Linked DNA regions of Homo sapiens: region 2 is linked to region 1. Evidence: promoter capture Hi-C in human tissues and cell types (Jung and others, 2019). All regions are on one chromosome and are shown on one strand. Each heading gives the region's core, a stretch centred on a gene start or on the middle of the fragment in contact. The rest is flanking DNA. Distances are from core to core; before and after follow the strand shown.

Region 1 (3,606 bases), core at 589-3,088:
GCCGAGTGGGAAAGAGCGGGGCTACAAAAAGGAAACTGTCTGCATGCTCACCATTTCATTTCTAGCTCTCCAAAGCTAGGTGGCTTTTTTTCTCAAGACATATTCTTTAAAAACATACTCCTTCTTGCTAAGCAGAAAATTCTAGCTGACATTAGTCTGTAACCAAGGCTCTTTCTCTCTGAAAGAACAAAGTTTATCTATTAGGAAAGCCCCTGGACTTCTTTCATATATGGAAAAAAATTAAGTTAGGCACTCAAACAACTTTACAAAAAAATACCCACTGGAACTACTGAACAGGGAACTCTACTTACAGCCCTCCAAGGCATCTTCTATTCAGTTGCTCTATATCGTTATAGTTATTGTGAATACAATATTTTATGTTCTACCTTTTTACTTATTTCATACTAATTTGCTAATGAATCCAATGTGCTAATTAATGAACATTTGGATTATTTCTAGTTTTTTCCCCAGTAAGTCACTGGGCCTGTTCTGGACTAAATATTTGTGTCCCCTGCAAATCTATCTGTTGAAGTCTTAACCCCCAGTGTGATGGTATCTGGAGGTGGGGGTCTTTGGGAGGTGAGATTTAGACGAGGTCACGATGGTGGAGTCCCTACAATGCTATGAGGGCCCTGATAAGAAGAGGAAGAGACATCCCTCTCTCTCTGGCATGTGAAAGTACAGCAAGAAGGTGGCTGTCTGCAGGCCAAAAAGAGAGCCCTCACCAAAACCAGAATCTGCCAACACCTCCATCTTGGACTTCCCAGCCTCCAAAAGTGTAGGAAATAATGCCTGTTGTTTAAGCAACCCAGTCTGTGGTATTTTGATATATCAGCCTAAGCTGCTTAAAGACAAGGACCTAAAGTGATATAAACAACTGGCAAATATCTACTTGGCCCTCCACTACTTGGCTTCTGAGATTTTGCTAAGAGAACAGAAAGTAGGACCACACTGCCATCACAAAGGCCCACACTGCCATCACAGAGGACCACACTGCCATCACGAAGGCCCACTCTGCTATCACAAAGGACCACACTGCCATCACAGAGGACCACACTGCCATCACAAAGGCCCACGCTGCCATCACAAAGGCCCACGCTGCCATCACAAAGGACCACACTGCCGTCACAGAGGCCCACGCTGCCGTCACAGAGGCCCACGCTGCCATCACAGAGGCCCACGCTGCCATCACAAAGGCCCACTCTGCCGTCACAGAGGCCCACTCTGCCATCACAGAGGCCCACGCTGCCGTCACAGAGGCCCACGCTGCCGTCACAGAGGCCCACGCTGCCATCACAAAGGACCACGCTGCCATCACAGAGGCCCACTCTGCCATCACAGAGGCCCACGCTGCCGTCACAGAGGCCCACGCTGCCGTCACAGAGGCCCACACTGCCATCACAAAGGACCACACTGCCATCAAAAAGGACCACACTGCCATCAAAAAGGACCACACTGCCATCAAAAAGGACCACACTGCCATCACAAAGGCAGGAGAGATGATGGGGAAGTTCACCTGCTCCTGGGTCATTCTGGGAAGGCTGGGGTCTCTGTAGCTTCCAGAGCCCACACCTATGGTGAACAGGTTGGTGAGGGCAGAGGACACAGGTGGACCTGACAGCAGGGTGACTTCAGGGGAACCAGGGCCAAGTCACATGGTTAAGACAGACAGATGAAGGCTGTGCTACCCACTCAGACCACCACCTCCAGAGTGTCTGAAAAACCAACCCCTTTCCCAAGAAATTTCCCAAAGAAGAATGTTGGCTTCTTTGTTCCAACATTCTCTTTTGAAAAATTCCAAACCTACAGAAAAGTTGAAATAATAATACAATGAATACCATACACCCTTCACCTAGATTCACCAATGGTTAACATTTTGCCATCTTTGCATTCTCTCTCTATACACACACACACTGTGTGTGTGTGTGCATGTAACTATTTGAATCATGACATGTCATCCCAAAATGTTTCAGCCTGCATCTTCCTAAGGATAAGGACATTGTTTACACAGCCATCTGCCGGTATCGTACACAAAAAATTCAGCGTTGATTCAATAAGCTTACCTAACACAGCCATTCATTTAAAAAATGTCTCAATTATCTCCAGTATGTCCTTTATAGCTCCCTTCTCTGATGGAGAATCCAATCAAGGATCAAGATTGTATTTATTTGTCATATTGCTTTAATCTCCTAAATCCCAATTAAATCTAGAAGAGTCTCTGTGTGCTTCATGACACCGGCCCACTGCCTTGCAGGAAGTCCCTACTCTTTTTTTTTTTTTTTTTTTTTTTTTTTTTTTGAGATGGAGTCTCGTTCTGTTGCCCAGGCTGAAGTGCAGTGGCACGATCTTGGCTCAACTGCAACCTCAGCCTCCTGGGTTCAAGTGATTCTCCTGCCTCAGTTTCCTGAGTAGATGGGATGACGTGCACGCCACCATGCCTGGCTAATTTCTGTATTTTTAGTAGAGACGGGGTTTCGCCATGTTGGCCAGGTTGGTCTCGAACTCCTGACCTCAGGTGATCCTCCTGCCTCGGCCTCCCAAAGTGCTGGGATTACAGGTGTGAGCCATCGCGCCCGGGCTCTAGTCTGTCTATGAGCAGAGCTAGGCCCCAAGTACCGAGATACTTGAGTCCTGGCACAGACAAGAAATTTAACTCTAGTGCTATTCAAATGACCCTTGACGCTTTGCCAATTACCAATGTTTGGGAATCCGACCATCCAGCCTTGCTCCAATCCACAAGTCCATTAGGTAAGAGGCCTGGCAATCCTAAAACCCCAACCTACACAGGAGCACCAAGAAAGCCCTGAGTCCTGGCCTGAAAAGAGGCCGGCTCCTGTTCTTGACTTCGTTGGCTCATGATTCTTTGCGTGAACAGGCCTTGCCTATAATGCTTCCTCACAGCCCACCCTGTGCTAATCCTTAGGAGAGAAAAGAGGTTCTAGCAGTATCATTCCGCTTCTCCTCAGCCTCCCTGCCCTGGCCTGTGCTGCCCTGGGGAAGCAAGAGCTGCACTGATCTCATCCCCATTTCTTTGGTCCATTTCCAGGGTCTCGGCCTATAGTAGCCCCTCCCCACTACTTTGTCCTTGGCCAAAGAGGGCACCGTGCACTAGGGGACGCTCCTGAGCGATCCCCAATAGCAGCTGAAGGCTGCTTCCCGGGGCGAGAGATCCTTCTCAATAATCAGCTTTGTAGTCAGAGGCAGCAGCTGCCCCAGCCCGCCCAGGCCTCCCTGGGAAGGGAGAGGACTGGATTAGAAAGGAGGCAGTTAATGGAAAATGAAGAGGGAGGGGAGAGGTGAGTTACACGCTGCTCCCCAGGGCAGTGACTTCCGAGCTAACAGCAGGTGGAGTTGCCCTCCTCCCTCGCTGTTGGTGGGGTTCGCTTAGGGACGGAGGGAGAAGGAGGCTGGCAGAGGGCATAGCCCCACTTCCCAACCCTGATTTGAGTTATCTTCCCCAGGGGGCCTTTCTCCCTATCTGTCCTCCAAGCCCCAGCAGTGTGATCATCAGAAGAAAGCACTGGAAGCTCTTGGAAACGCTGGAGTCCACTTCAGGACAATTTGTTTTCCTTTCTTTTTTTTCTTGTCACTGACTCGAAGCTCATC
Region 2 (3,513 bases), core at 664-3,163, 440 kb before region 1:
AATTGTAATCTTCTTCTTGTTTGTAAACTTTAAAAATACATACTGTCAAGTTTTCTTAGATAGGGAGTTAAATCCAATTTAGGCAAAGTCAAGATAGAACCACGACGTGCTTTCTTATTATAAGCCTCCTTCTGTTCTGCAGACCTTTAGCTGGTTAAAATACACTCTGTAATTAGTAGTTCAGATAAAAAACTCACAAAGTTCTCCTGAAACAGAAACTCTTAACAGTGAATCCCTAACAATATTTATCTTCCCAATCTCTTCTGCCCCTTCCCCAATCTGCTTAAACTCCTAGTTCTTTTCCTACCCCCACAATTCTCAAACACAGCCCTGAAGATCAAACTCTAATCCAGAAGATGGAAGCTCAGCACATACAAACAAATTTGGGGCCAGGCATGGTGGCTCACACCTGTAATCCCTGTGCTTTGGGAGGCTGAGGCAGGAGGATCACTTTAGTCCAGGAGTTCAAGACCAGCCTGGGCAACAATAGTGAGATCTCATCTCTACCAAAAATTCAAAAATTAGTCAGGCATGGTGGTGTGTGCCTGTAGTCCCAGCTACTCGAGAGGCTGAGGCAAGAGGATCGCTCGAAGTTACAGTGAGCCATGATCATGTCACTCTAGCCCTATCTAACAACCACCACCACCAAATTTTGGACTTTAAAGGGCTACCACTGAGAAACAGTATCTCTGTAGAAACACTCACTGTTTGTTATTGTTTGTTTTTATTTGGTAGAGATGGAGTCTGTGCTATGTTGCCCAAGCTGGTGTTGAACTCCCGGCCTCAAGTTATCCTCCTGTCTCGGCCTCCCAAAGTGCTGGGATTATAGGTGTAAGCCATCCCAACCCCAGACTCCACCCCTACTGCCACCCGTTGTTTTTTTAAAAGATGGTAGAAATTAAAGCTTCATCTTAGCTTTCGTGACAAGCAAGAGAAAAAAAAAAAAAGAAAATTAAAGCTTCAGTTAGGTCAACCGATTTAACAAGAAAAAATTCTTGACTTGGCATTTTGGCCACTGAGAAAGTCTCACTTTTTTCCTTGCATATTTCCTTGCATATCGTATTTATTGTACATAAATCTTGGCTTCCATCTTCAGAGAGCAAAGTCTTTGGTCTAAAAACTGAGAAAATACTGCTCGATCCTTGCGGTGGGTAGTGATTAGAAGAGGGCAGGACGCGGGTTCCTAGGGTGCAAGTAACGTTCTGTTAATTGATCTGGGTGTTCACTTGGTGAAAAGTCTGGAAGCTGTACCTGCGACATCGCACTTTCCTAATGTACGTTATATTTCAATAAAAGATTTTTTTAAATTGGACTGCTTGAAAGTTATTTTTAAAAATTACATGCTTTTGAGACTTGAGCAGCTGCAAAGGCTCTGTTTTCTATTTTGATCATTCTGTTTCTCGAGATGACCACATCTTTCAGAGGAAATGAGTCAAAGCCACTCTGTCTTGCTTTTCCAGCTGAGCATGTTCTGTTTCAATGAAGTAATGAATGAACTTGGCCGCACCACCCCCAAGCCTACAACAGCAAACAGAGGGCCCTCGGCCAATCAGCAGGCACTCCGGGTTTTCAAGTTGAGTTCAAACAGGACCACCGGAGGCCAATCAGAGTGCGCGGCCCCGCCCCGAACGCCCGGCCGTGACCAACCACGAGGCCGGATGAGCCAAAACACAGCGGCCGGCCAATGCTGGGGAGCCCCACGGCGCCGAGCTCCGCCAATGGGCGCGGCCGGGCGAAAAGAGAAACAGTGAGGGCCCCACAGGCCGCAGGATTCGAATCGAACGTCCTTACGGGAGCCGGGCGCTGGCGGAGCGGCGCCCCGGCCAATCAGCGGCAGTCCCCGAACGTTGGGCCGGCCCAGCCCCGCCCCGCGCTGTTGTTTGTGGTGTCGGCCGGGCCGCGGGAGTCGAACCACAACATTCGCCGGGCGGGCGGCGGCGGAGCGGGCGGCGGAGCGGCGGCAGCAGCGGTGAGCGCGAGCCCCGGAGCCCCGGGCGGCCGGCCTCCCGCGCCCGCGCAGCCCCGCGTCTGCGTCCGGCCGGAGACGCCGGGCCCCGCGCCGCGCCGCGCCATGTCGGTGAACATGGACGAGCTGCGGCACCAGGTCATGATCAACCAGTTCGTGCTGGCCGCGGGCTGCGCGGCCGACCAGGCGAAGCAGTTGCTGCAGGCGGCCCACTGGCAGTTCGAGGTGCGAGCCTGGCCGCCGCGGGGCCGGGCCGCGGGGGTCGGGGACGCCGGGCGGCGGCGGGGGCGGGGAGCGCTCCTGTTGTCGGCCCGGAAGGCGATCGGCGCCCGCGAGCGGGTCTTACGCGGGACCGGGGCCGGGACCGGCTCCCCTCTGCACGTGGGGCAGCCGAGGGTCGGGGGCCGCGGGCCGGGCGCGGAGGCGGGGAGAGCCGGTGGGGGGCCCAGCCGCTGCGTTTCCTGACTCCGCCTGGCCCGCCGTGTCACTGCCCTGTTTGTCCGCAGACCGCGCTGAGCACGTTCTTCCAAGAAACCAACATTCCCAACAGCCACCACCACCACCAGATGGTAAGCGGCGGCGGGCAGGGGCGCGGGCCGGGGCCGCTGTCAGCGCGGCGGTGACAGCCATGTTGCCGGGGAGCGCCGCGCCGCGAATGTAAACAAAGAGCCAAAATGTCTTCCAGGAAAGAGCGGCTCCCGGGCCGGCGCTGGCGCCTCCAACTTTGAGGCCCGCCTCCCGGGCTGCTGCTGCTTGGCCTCGGGACTGGTGCCCGGCACTGGTCCCTGGGGGGAAGCGGCGCCAAAGTTGGGGGGAGGGGGAGAGGGCCGGGGGCCTGGCGAGGGGCTCAGGAGCTGGGGGACCCCAGAGCCAGGGGATGGGGAGGGGGAGAGGGTGATGCCCGGACGTCTGGGGCACTGGGAAGCCCGCGCGAAGGGCCCAGGGAGGGCGATGGGGGTGCTTGTGTTTATGGGGACCCCCTCGTGCTGTTGAGTGGTTTCCCCCCTCCCCCTCCACACACACACACACCCAGCGCTACAGGGAACAGGAAAGGCATGAATCCACCCTGGCTCAGGAAGCCGGGCTCTACCCACAAAGATCTGTTCAACCTTCCGAAGCCCAAGGGGACTGGGAAGTTGGAAGGACATACATCCCCCAAGCCAGGAGGACACACAGATTTTGACCCAAGATAAGGCCAGGAATGTGTCTTTAATCTCTGTGTTGAGCTCCACCAGCCCAGCACACAGAGAAGTGGTCCGGGGTCTGGATTTGCTTTCTTTTTCATTCTAGCCCAGGCCCAAGCTTTTGCCCTCCTGGCCATGGGGTACTCTGCTTTCTTGAGGCCCAGGACATCTCTCCTGTACCCTACCCCCCTAGTTACCTATTAGCCCTGCTGGGGGAGGAGGGGCAGGGCTCAGCGATAGGGATCTTAAAACATTGTTCCCCAGGAGAGCTGTTGTGGACTCTAGGTGCATTTTTGGGATTTTTAACACTTGGTGCCCTTGCCTTTGGCTCTCTGTTTTCATCTAGTCACAGAGGACAAGTAG

Evidence for each region. The method cuts DNA at HindIII sites, captures the fragments that hold promoters and counts their contacts. A contact is called where the count stands out against the background at its distance.
Region 2: a contact is called between the fragment with the promoter of UBALD2 here and a fragment that was not itself captured in region 1, in 2 of the 25 tissues and cell types used here (aorta and dorsolateral prefrontal cortex).

Annotation. Positions count from the first base shown.
Region 1 is chr17:76,705,025-76,708,630 of GRCh38, forward strand. All of the region lies in intron 1 of MXRA7 (matrix remodeling associated 7), which reads right to left. Among named protein-coding and RNA genes, the nearest start is that of MXRA7, 4.1 kb to the right of the region's middle. The HindIII fragment of the contact is 4,690 bases long and covers 1-3,606 here.
Region 2 is chr17:76,263,435-76,266,947 of GRCh38, forward strand. UBALD2 (UBA like domain containing 2) reads left to right here and starts at 1,914. Exons shown (of 3, transcript NM_182565.4): 1 at 1,914-2,191; 2 at 2,473-2,535. The coding sequence starts at 2,072. LOC105371896 (a long non-coding RNA gene) reads right to left here and starts at 1,647. Exons shown (of 6, transcript XR_007065913.1): 1 at 1-1,647. RefSeq lists enhancers at 1,317-1,366, 2,627-2,726 and silencers at 1,717-2,016, 2,317-2,456. The HindIII fragment of the contact is 4,971 bases long and covers 1-3,495 here.